Regions from separate parts of the Homo sapiens genome. Here region 2 is linked to region 1. The links are contacts of gene promoters, found by promoter capture Hi-C in human tissues and cell types (Jung and others, 2019). All regions are on one chromosome and are shown on one strand. The core of a region is centred on a gene start or on the middle of the fragment in contact, and the rest is flanking DNA. Distances in the headings are between cores, read along the strand shown.

Region 1 (6,131 bases), core at 401-2,900:
CCTGTTTATTTTCTGTTATTCCCCACCTCGTCTTGCTTTTCTAGAAATCCATTCTTCTCATTGCTGCCAGGGGTCTTTCTAAAACACCTATCCTACAATATGGCCAGGTACTATTTTAGGTGGTAGGGATACAGCAATGAACAAAACAAGGTTCCTGCTTTCATGAGCCTGAATTCTATAGCTAAATATATAAATACACAATAAAGAAGAAAAATATCAGTGGTAAGTTCCATGCAGACTGGGGAGCTACTTTAGATTTGAGAGGTCAGGAAAGGTTTTGCTGAAGAGAAGACATTAAAGCTCAGAGCTGAATGACACACCTTGAGTGGCACTCAGGAGACATCCACACTTCCCAGATGAAAATCCTTTAGTGACTTCCCAAAGTTCTCGGGATATAAGTCCAAATTTCACAGCATGGCAGAGAAGGTCTTCTGGCATCTGGCCAGTTGTCTTCCTCTCTAGCTTCTTTACATTACATGACATTAATGCATTTAATCCTCACGAGCACCTTGCAAAATAGCAGCTAGGCTGGCTGAGTTCTCTGATGGTCTGATTCATCTTTGTACTGTCACTGCGTTAGTAGTTGGCTCAACAAACGTTCATGAAACAAGCAAGGTGTTGGACAAAAAGCATGGATGCTTAAGGCAGGTCTAGACTGGTGCTGCTCAACAAAAATAAGGTAATCCACATTTGCAATGTAAAATTTCCTCATAGCTACATTAGGAAAGTAGAAGCAACACATGAAGTTGTCATAACATTTTATTTATCCAAATATATCCAAAATATTATGTTTAACATGTGATTCATATAAAGTTAGTGAGATATTTTACATTCTTTTTCTCATTCTCAGTCCTCAAAATCTAGTGTGTGTATTTCACACTTATATCACATCTCAATTCGGACTAGCCACTTTCCAATAAAGCTCAGCAGGCCCCGCGGGGTGGCTCACGCCTGTAATTCCAGTGCTCTGGGAGGCTGAGGCAGGTGGATCGCTTGAGGAGTTCGAGACCAGCCTGGGCAACATGAGGAGACCCCGTTTCTACAAAGCAAAACAAAAACCAAAAAAATTAGTGATGCGAACCTTCGGTCTCAGCTACTCAGGAGGCTGAGGTGGGAGGATCGCTTGAGCCCAGGAGTTCCAGGCTGCAGCGAACTACGATAGCGCCACTGCACTCCAGCCTGGGCGATAACGTGAGGCCTTGTCTCCAAAAATAAAAATACAACAACAACAAAAAATCCCAGAAGTGCTCAGCAGCCACATGTGGCTAGTGGCCACCTCCCGCGAAGCAGCCCGGCCACTCACCTCCTACCACCTTTTACCTATTTCTCCTTCTCCGCAGGCCTCCCTAGCACTACCAGTTGTCTTGTTGGCGAGTCCTTTGTGACTCCCACTATACAAGCCCCTCAAGGCCAGGCTTCGCCCTGAACGGTGCCTGGGCGGAGCAGACGCTCCATCAACGCTGTCCCCGCCTGAGTCCACGTCCAGGGGATCCGCAGGCGCCGTACCCTGCTTCCACGCGCCGGGGCCGCCCCTCGCCCGGCCTCCCGCAGGCCCACCCCTCGCCAGGCCCAGGCCCATCCCCGGGCTGTTCGCTGGAAATCGTGGACGTGACTGGGAGGAGCCTGCCCGCCCCGGCTCGCTGCGCCGCGCGCACAGGGCCCGCGCCAGCGACCATGGCGGAGCCCACAGTGTGCTCCTTCCTCACCAAGGTGCTGTGCGCCCACGGCGGCCGCATGTTCCTGAAGGACCTGCGCGGCCACGTGGAGCTGTCGGAGGCCAGGCTCCGGGACGTGCTGCAGCGCGCCGGGCCCGAGCGTTTCCTGCTGCAGGAGGTGGAGACGCAGGAGGGCCTCGGGGACGCGGAGGCCGAGGCGGCGGCCGGCGCGGTGGGCGGTGGCGGCACCTCCGCCTGGAGGGTGGTGGCCGTGTCCTCTGTGCGCCTCTGCGCCCGCTACCAGCGCGGCGAGTGCCAGGCCTGCGACCAGCTGCACTTCTGCCGCCGGCACATGCTGGGCAAGTGCCCCAACCGGGACTGCTGGTGAGAAGGCGGCGGCGGGCGGGGACTGTGGGCGCTGGCCGCGGGCCTGGCCGTCCTGCTGGAAGCGGGAGCGACGGGAAGGGGGGCTTCGTCCTGCCCCGGGCCGGGGACGCGGGGCTGGACGACCCCCTCCCGCAGGCCTTTCCTGGGCGTCCTCCCCCGCGCTTCCAGCAGCTGGGCGGAAAGGCGCGAAGGTCCTCTCCATGGAGACGTCTCAACCGCCCACGCCAGAAAAGTTGCTGCCCCCGCCCGCCCCCCCGGATCCTGCGCGACGCGGCCGGGTTAAATCCGGACTGGGACTTCGGAGCTCACTTATTCTGGTGATATTTGGCGGGAGGTGGGGGGCGTGGGGCGTCTGAGGATCCCATGAGATCCCTGGACCCTTTAGCCGGAAATCGCTGCTCCCCCATATCCACACACTTGTGCAGAAGCGGGTCTGCGCCCTCTAGGTTTAACAGCGCTGAGCCAGTCTCACCCCAGGAAACAGGGCTGGATGGCTTGGGTGAGGCCCTGTGGTTCCTGACTGCCAGAGCTGGGGTTCGGGGCTGCCTCCTGACCCCAGGCTGTGCTTCACAGCCCCGAATTTTCCTTGGTTGTCTCTAGCCACACACCCCGCCAAAGCGGTGCTGGGGATAGGGGCGCTTTCTTTTTAACGTTGGTGGACTGTGGCAGCTGTTGCCGGGGAGAAGGCCAGGTGCAGTCGCCTACGGAACAGATGTGCATCCTCAGGCGAGGTGGGCGACCCTTGGCTTCAAAGCATCCCTACTGAAAATTCAAATGACCCTGGGAGAGGAGTTCCTTCAACCCAATTTTCTTATTTTCCATCAGTGCTTATTAGGCCATACTATCCCCGGTTTCATGAAAATTACTCAACTTCACATGTATTAAATACATTGAAAGCTGCTCAAGGCAAGGAATTGGACAGACTGGTCCTTCTTCACCTGGGCATCTGACCGAGGGCTTTGTTCTTTTAGGTCTACCTGTACCCTTTCCCATGATATCCACACACCTGTCAACATGCAGGTCCTGAAAAGCCATGGACTTTTTGGTCTCAATGAAAACCAGCTTCGGATCCTGCTTTTGCAGAATGACCCCTGTCTTTTACCAGAGGTGAGTCACCAAGGAGTCACCCTCATGTCACATTTGCTACAAGTACTTTCCCCATTTATTTTTCTTTTGGCTTTACATATTAATTTTAATTGCCTTCGAAGCAACATGATTCAGTTTCAAATGCTTTAAAGGTACCCTTTATAATTGCTATCATGGCGAAATAGTACGTTTGTTTCAGTTTAGCCATACACAAAGAAGTTTTAAAAACAAAATAGTACAAATCCCAAGAGAAAATTGGAACATCAATTAAGACCACCAATTAAAAGCAAGATTTTCTAATCTAGCACAGTGATGCTATCATAGACACCTCCACTTGGCCAGAAGAGGGATGGGAAGAAGGGGAGATGTTGAGAAAACAGAGGATAGTTCATAATTGTGGCCTGATTTTAACTCTAATGCATTTCAGCGTCTAGAAAGGAAGATAGCCACAAGACTAGAGGTAGGAGCTGGAGCCTTTGGTGCAGGTGGCAGAGGCTGCTCTCAAGGCAGCAGAATCTGTACCCAGAAGGCAGTCCTGGAGTTGATCTCAGGAACAAGCAGGTTTCTTCCTGACATGCATAACCTGTTTCATTTCTTCGAGCACTGAAGCCAAGTCTGGTATGTCACGGTTGTGAGCCAGAGGCATTCCAACCAACCATGTTGCCCAAAGTAGATGCAAGCAGTAGCTGAAGCAGGTTATTGGCAGGAAGGGAGAGGAGGGTGGCTGCACCTATGAGGCTGGGTCCAGTCCTTCCTGTCTCAGAGAGAAGGCGTGGTGCCGCTGCTATTTGCCTTTTAATTTTATAGTACTTTTTGATTTATAGAAGTTTAGTGTTTTTATTTTGTCAAATCTATCGAATGTTTTTTTGGTATGCCCTTTTTTAGGATGTATCTTGGGCCCAGCCTCACCTTGTCATATTAGACTACTTCAGTGTTTTGTGAGCAGCTGATGGGTTGGCTGCACTTACAACAGGAGCCTCCCCTGTGCCTCCACTTGTCCCCATCACCTGGGACTGGAAGTAGGTGACATGTGGCACAAAACGTGATCATGTGGGCAGCAGGGACTGTGGAAAAACACAGTGCATGAGGCAAGAATGGTGCCTCACATCTCTTGTATGAAATGCCTGATGATTGCTTTTACCACTCTCTCAATAAAAAAGACAATAGACAGGTAAAGTTTCATGCTGGTGCATTGATGGACAAATTTCTAGAAAAATACAGCTTGTCAAAATGGATTCAAGAAGAAACGGAAAGCCAAAATAGTGTCATAAAAATTTTTAAAATAAAAGCATTAAACAAACCTCAAAGCATTAGTTAGAAGGCTTGCACAAGAAAACATCAGACTTATATAGTTTTTTTTTTTTTGAGACAGGGTCTTACTCTCTCACACAGGCTGGAAGTACCTCGGCTCACTGTAGCCTCTGCCTCCTGAGTTCAAGTGATTCTCCCACCTCAGTCTCCTGAATAGTTGGGACTACAGGCACGTGCCACCATGCCCAGCTAATTTTTGTACTTTTTGGTAGAGATAGCGTTTCACCATGTTGGCCGGGCTGGTCTTATATGCCTGACCTCAAGTGATCCCTCTGCCTCAGCCTCCTAAAGTGCTGGGATTACAGGCGTGAGCCACTGCGCCTGGCCAGGCTTATATAGTTTCATAGTTGAATTCTATCAAATTTTTGTCTTTATTGAAGTGTAGTTGACAAATAAAAATTTTATATTTACAGTGTACAATGTGGTGTTTTAATATATTTACATTGTGAATTGATTGCAATGATTAAGCTAATTAGCATACCATTACTTTACATGGCTATTATTTTTTGGGTGTGGTAAGGACAGCAATTTTCAGGTATACAGTATGTTATTTTTTTAAATTTTATTTTATTTTTTATTTATTTTATTTTATTTTTATTTTTATTTTATTTTATTTATTTCTTTTTTTTTGAGATGGAGTCTCACTCTATCACCCAGGCTGGAGTGCAGTGGTGAGGTCTCGGCTCACTGCAAGCTCTGCTCCCGGGTTCATGCCATTCTTCTGCCTCAGCCTCCCGACAGGCGCCCACCATGATGCCCAGCTAATTTTTTGTATTTTGTTTAGTAGAGATGGGGTTTCACCTTGTTAGCCAGGATGGTCTCGATCTCCTGACCTCGTGATCCGCCCACCTCAGCCTCCCAGAGTGCTGGGATTATAGGTGTGAGCCACTGTGCCTGGCCATTATGTTATTATTAACTACAGTCACCTTGCCGTACAGTGGATTTCCAGAAATTCATCCTGTTTAATTGAAACTTTGTTCCCTTCGACCTACATATCCCTATTCTCCTTAATTTTAACAAATCTATAAGGAACAGGCTGTTCCTTATATTTGGAGTAGGTGTAGGATCTATTTTCCATGATCTCCAATTCTTGAACCACTATCATACTAATTAAAGTAGTTTATCTTTCATTTTTAAAGTTTATTTACTCTTTTAGAGACATGGTCTCGCTGTGTCACCCAGGCTGGAGTGCAGAGACAGGGTTTTGCCATGTTGCCCAGGCTGGTCATAGCTCACTGCAACCTCGATCTCCTGGGCTCAAGCAATCCTCGCACTTCAGCCTCTCGAGTAGCTGGGACTGCAGGTGTACACCACCGCACCCAGCTACTTTTTTTTGTTTTGTTTTTTTGAGATGGAATCTTGCTCTATCGCCCAGGCTGGAGTGCAGTGGTGTGATCTCAGCTCACTGCAATCTCCACCTCCCTGGTTCAAGCGATTCTCCTGCCTCAGCCTCCCAAGTAGCTGGGATTGCAGGCGCTTGCCACCATACCCAGCTAGTTTTTTGTATTTTGAGTAGAGATGGGGTTTGTCATTTTGGCCAGGCTGGCCTTGAACTCTTGACCTCAAGTGATCCGCCCACCTTGGCCTCCCAAAGTGCTGGGATAACAGGCGTGAGCCATAGCGCCTGGCCCCCAGATACTTTTTTTTGTTTTTGTTTGTTTGTTTTGTAGACAGAGTCTTGCTCTGTCGCCC
Region 2 (5,327 bases), core at 1-2,500, 250 kb before region 1:
CATGGGTCTGTGAAGAGGAAGAAGTGTGAATCTGGCTTGACCTCTGAAGTCCTTGTTGAAGTAGCCTGGCTGGCAAAGGTTCTAAAGAAACTTTAGGGTTCTGAATGGAAGAACCAGCAATAAGGCCTGAAGAGATGCCAGTATGAGCTAAATCCTGGGGTTTCTTTGGTACTGGCCCTGTGTGACCAGCAATAAGACTTGAAGAATGTGTAGTCTGAGTAGAATCTAGTTTTTTGGGAGTAGCTAGTGGCAGCTTACTCATGATACTTGCTAATTTTTCTTCTCTCAGTCCTGGACGAGGCTTTGTGGTTGGCATGCTTATCCTTGAGCCAACTGGAGGGCCCTTGTTCCCATTGTTGATAACCGCTAAAGCTTCAGAAACAAGATCCAGTGAAGGTGAATGGAAAGAAAGGTCTTCATCTAGTGAGTCGTCGAGGCAGATGGTTTCTTGGGCTGGTGCAGAGCTAGAGCTAGCTGCAGCAATGGCAGCTGTGCTGGAGCTCGTTGGAGGACCGCTAACCGAAGCCACCAGGGATGTTGGAGTTTTCTGGTCCTTTTTTGGACTACACTCCTAATGTAAAGCATCATATGGAAAAAAATAGAAATGGTGAATAAAAAATTACAAAGTTAATTTTAAATAACTAAAAGATTCTCATGACAATTACAATTGTTTTTCTACTGGAAATCTTCAGAGACTATCAAAACAAAAATAATTTTTGAGATGACAGAGCTCCTGACTGAGCTGTCCTCACAAGACAAAGTATCTGATATATTGCACATAGCTGTCATACTTAACACCAAGTGGAAGGAACATTCATATACTAGTTACATTACTGATGAGCCTCCCCCACCTGCATTAGATCTTCAAATCCTGCTCCAAATCCATCTGTTCAGATTATTCTCTTTTTATTCCCCTGCACTCAGAATAAATTCTGCCTTTATATTAAGACTCTCCCCTTCTCGTCTGGGATGGTTTGCTAGGAGGCTGACCTTCACTTTCTGCTTCCATGCATTTCTGCCTCTTTGTATGCCCTGTCCTGCAGCTACCCTACAGCCAGTACATAGAAAAACTGGTACGTCAAAGTGGCAGACGATTCAATCCAAGCATAAATAAATTATGCTATTTATTATGGTGAATCTGTAATTTATTTGTAAATTACTCATTTGTCATTTATTCAATATATATCCACTAAGTGTCCGCTGTGAGCAGGGCTCTATGCTAAGAAAACAAGGGTATTAAGAATTACAACTCTGAATACCTAAGAGTTGTTAGAGTCTGTTTCTCAAATAATCAACCTTCTTAATATTTAAGAAAAAGAACTAGAGCACAGTTTATAATATTCAAAGAGCAAAATAATTTAAAAGCAACTATTTATTTTTAAAGATAAAAGTATTTGACTCATTTTATTTTTAAGACTGAGAAGCAAAAGCCTATTACATAAAAGTCGTATCAAAGTCTCTTCAATTAGTTTCTTAAACAAACCCAAACAAACCTAGAGTGTTATATTACATACTGATTGATACAACCATAGCACTTACCTTAAGCATAGTGGGGAAAGAATGGAGAGGAAGGGTCTTTACCATCACCTCCTAAGGTATTACATAAGCAAGCTGTTAAGAATACTGTTACACTCTAACTTCCTTAGTATTTTTTCTAAGCTTTTACTCTAAAACCCCTGATTAAAAACCTCACTACCAATTGGAAGTACAAGTGTAACTGCATTAAGGTCACAAATGTCTGCTAAGAAGAATGAGTAATGCAGATGAAACACATTTGTTTTGATATGCCATCCACTTACATGATTAGTGAAAATTCCATTATAAAAAGTACACAATAAAGGGTAGGAAATGTATCCCAATATTGGAAGTATTACTAGTATAAAACTGCTGTTTTAAAATAACTTTTTGATTAATTTTTATTTATAAAACCATTAAATCCACTCTAATAGAATACTGTGCAGATTTATACTGGCAGAGAAAATTGTTCAGGATATATAACTGAGTCAAAAAAGCAGGTTATCCCATTTATATAAAAGACTAAATAAATAGATAGCTGATTGGATAGATGGATGGATGTATGGATGGACGGACGAATGGAAGGGAGGGAGGGAGGAACAGAGTTTCAGAAGAAGGGAAGGAAGATGTGTCCTAGAAAGCTAAGAGCTTTTATTCTCTGACTGAGGAGAAATTTATAGATACTTTTACTTTCCTCCTTACTTTTCCGGGTTATTTGCATTTTCTTTTGTAGGCATTTCCTTATCTTATCTTTATAACTAGAAACACTATGGGGAGTTACAGTAGAAAAAAACCACATTAACAGTATAGCTTTTCCATTTTGGGAAAATGAAAAAGTAATTTAATCATAGAGAAGGAAACATACAAAAAAACTGATGACTCCCCCATATCATCCTAACACAACCAGTATCAGAATTTAATAAATTTCCTATCCTATTATTCTATTAATCATATGTTTGAATAGATGTATCAAAATGTAACCAATCCTTTATGGAGGGTACTAAGACTTTAGTATTCTAATAAAAATAAAGTCAAGTGTCAAAACAACATCTAAATTCAACAGATTTAATGAAAGATTGGCTCAATATTATTTGGATCAGAAGACAAAGTAGGCTATTAAGAAAAAGAGGACTACTGGCTGGGCATAGTGGCGCATGCCTGTAATCCCAACACTTTGGGAGGCCAAGGCGGGTGGATCACGAGGTCAGGAGTTAGAGAGCAGCCTGACCAACATGGTGAAACCCCGTCTCTGCTAAAAATATAAAAATTAGCCAGGCATGGTGGTGTGCGCCTGTAGTCCCAGCTACTCAGGAGGCTGAGGCAGGAGAATCGCTTGAACCTGTGAGGCAGAGGTTGCAGTGAGCCGAGATCGCACCACTGCACTCCAGCCTGGGTGATAGAGTGAGACTCTGTCTCCAAAAGAAAAACAAGAAAAAGAAAAAGAAGACTATTTACCCTGCATTTAAAGAGGCTCTAACACCAAAAAAGTCAGGAAGGCCACAGAATAATATATAATGACCATCTGGCCACAATCTTATAAGCAAAGAACCTCATCTATTAAAAACAACAACAACAACAAAAACCAAAGAGACAAAGGCTATGGAGCAAAGTGTAAAACCTAAAGAGTATGAGCTTTCATTAAAATTTTAATTTCAAATGATTATAGTTTTTACTTCTAGAGGTTATATTTTGATTCTCTTTCAAATCTACTTTGTCTATTTTGATAGGATATTTTTTATTCCCTTTTCTATTTCTCTAAATATTAAAAATTTTTCAGTCAAATTATTTTATGTACTAAATTCCATAAGTGCACTACTTGTCCGTCTTAGGGATCTAACTGCTGTTTATTGTTCCTACTGAATCTCACTCATAGTAACTTATTCTCTCATGTATTCTGTATTTCAGACTGCAAGCTCAGGTCTGCCATGGTTTATAGGAGGAATGCCTTTGAGGCCTCTGAAGAGGGCACGTTATACCAAAGAGAATTTGCTTTTGCCAGTGGCCCCGGGTCACTACTAATCCAGTAACCAAGCTACTTTTTCAGCTTGGCGTTTTCTCAGATTGTAGAGGTAGTGTAACTGAAACTCCTAAGCCAAGAAAATTTTTCAGCAAGGACATTCTTCCCCCAAACCAGAACCCAGTCCAAGACAGCCACTTAATGTCTCTGCTGGTTGCTGGATTTCTTTCTAGTCCTTTCTTTTACTAAAGATGTTATTGTTTGAAGGTCCAGCTTTACACAGATTTCATCCCAAGTTTTAACCTGTACAAGCCCAAGAAAACCCTAACTGCTATGCTCTGAGAAGAAACGTAAAAAGAAACCATAAAGTGATGGGTAGAAAGTGCCAAATGCCTCCAAGGGCAACCAAAGTGTAAGCGACAGATTAACACTGTCAGCTCCTTTTTTGTTTCTGGTCTTATGAATTTTTCTTACATATTTTTCAATCTCACCTATGCTATGAAAGAATATTTGTTGTATTTTACCTAGCATTTCCAAGTATTAATAAAGTTAAGCTTCACAATTGGTGTATGCATATTCCCCACTGCTACACAGGAATCTATTCTCCCAAATACAAAAGTACTAAGATTATTATGAAGTTGAAAACATCTATCTTATAGTGCCTACTGACCTCTGCTAAATACCATACATCTTTTTCATCTTAGGAATGTATTTCAACATTCACCAACTATAACTAATTAAATATTTTGTTTCAGTACTTACCTTTACTTTGGGTTTAGGTGCAGGAATCACCTTTTTCTTTGCCCTAAGATAAAAAGATTTTAAAAGGCTATTTCAGTAGCAGTTATATTGCTCATTAGAAAGTTATATAGCTTTGTAATTATGTGGTAAATAATTCCTTCTGCTATTTGGAAAGCTCTTTGAAGGAACCGTATTTAAGTGCTCAGTTTATACGAAGTATGTAGCAACATTTTCCCCAATTCAGATTAATTGAAAGGCCAAACAACTAGTAAAACATGAAATGTAGATAATACAATTTTTAAAAAATTAAATGTAAATAAACCATAAAATAGCCCCCCCAAAAAAAGAGCTTCAAGGAACCGCAGGCTCAAATTAAACCATGCCAAGAAGGTGTGAATGAGATTTAACTTAACCAAAACAAAAAAAACCCTGAGCTTTTAAAGAAAAATTTTTGTAATGTAAAAATTCAAATAAAAAATGTCAAAATGACAGGGAGAAAAAGGGCAAGAAAAATTACTATGGAATCTTGAAACTTTTGGAAAACTAAGAAAAAGTTTGAAGATGAAAAAAAAGAACAAGTTCCATAGTAAGTCAAAGTATTCAAATGTTTGTTGAATAATTAAATTGTTGACAAGCTAAAATACTTCACCTTGCCTATTTCACTTGGCTAAAATGTCATCAATTAGATTAACAAGAATCTTGATTAAAACTGTCAATTTACAACTTCATTTAGGCAACAGTAATTTTCTATGTTTTTTTTTTTTATGAAGGCCATTTAGGGAAACGACCTCTAGGCCCACTTATCCCATAGATTCCTACTTTCTGGTACAAAACAAAACACAAAGTTAAACAAAACACAAAGTTAATGATAATAATGAAGCTATTTAAAAAAAGGGAGAAGGAGGCTGGGTGCAGTGGCTCATGCCTGTAATGCTAGCACTTTGGGCTGAGGCAGGCGGATCACGTGAGGCCAGGAGTTTGAGACCAGCCTGGCCAACATGGTGAAACCCTGTCTCTACTAAAAATACAAACATTAGCCAGGCGTGGTGGCGCACGCCTGTAGTCCCAGCTACTCAGGAGGCTGAGGCAGGAGAATTGCCTGAACCTGGGAGAT

The links. Contacts are between HindIII fragments. The study calls those that stand out against the background at their distance.
Region 2: a contact is called between a fragment that was not itself captured here and the fragment with the promoter of ZC3HAV1L in region 1, in 1 of the 25 tissues and cell types used here (mesenchymal stem cells).

Annotation. Positions count from the first base shown.
Region 1 is chr7:139,031,561-139,037,691 of GRCh38, reverse strand. ZC3HAV1L (ZC3HAV1 like) reads left to right here and starts at 1,650. Exons shown (of 5, transcript NM_080660.4): 1 at 1,650-2,039; 2 at 3,014-3,149. The coding sequence starts at 1,675. LOC107986852 (a long non-coding RNA gene) reads right to left here and starts at 1,509. Exons shown (of 2, transcript XR_007060557.1): 1 at 1,321-1,509; 2 at 742-1,039. RefSeq lists silencers at 1,358-1,567, 1,818-2,337 and an enhancer at 1,324-2,243. The HindIII fragment of the contact is 9,430 bases long and covers 1-6,131 here.
Region 2 is chr7:139,278,268-139,283,594 of GRCh38, reverse strand. UBN2 (ubinuclein 2) reads right to left here. Exons shown (of 18, transcript NM_173569.4): 13 at 4,235-4,277; 14 at 1,540-1,590; 15 at 1-571. Among named protein-coding and RNA genes, the nearest start is that of UBN2, 50 kb to the right of the region's middle. The HindIII fragment of the contact is 3,186 bases long and covers 1-2,843 here.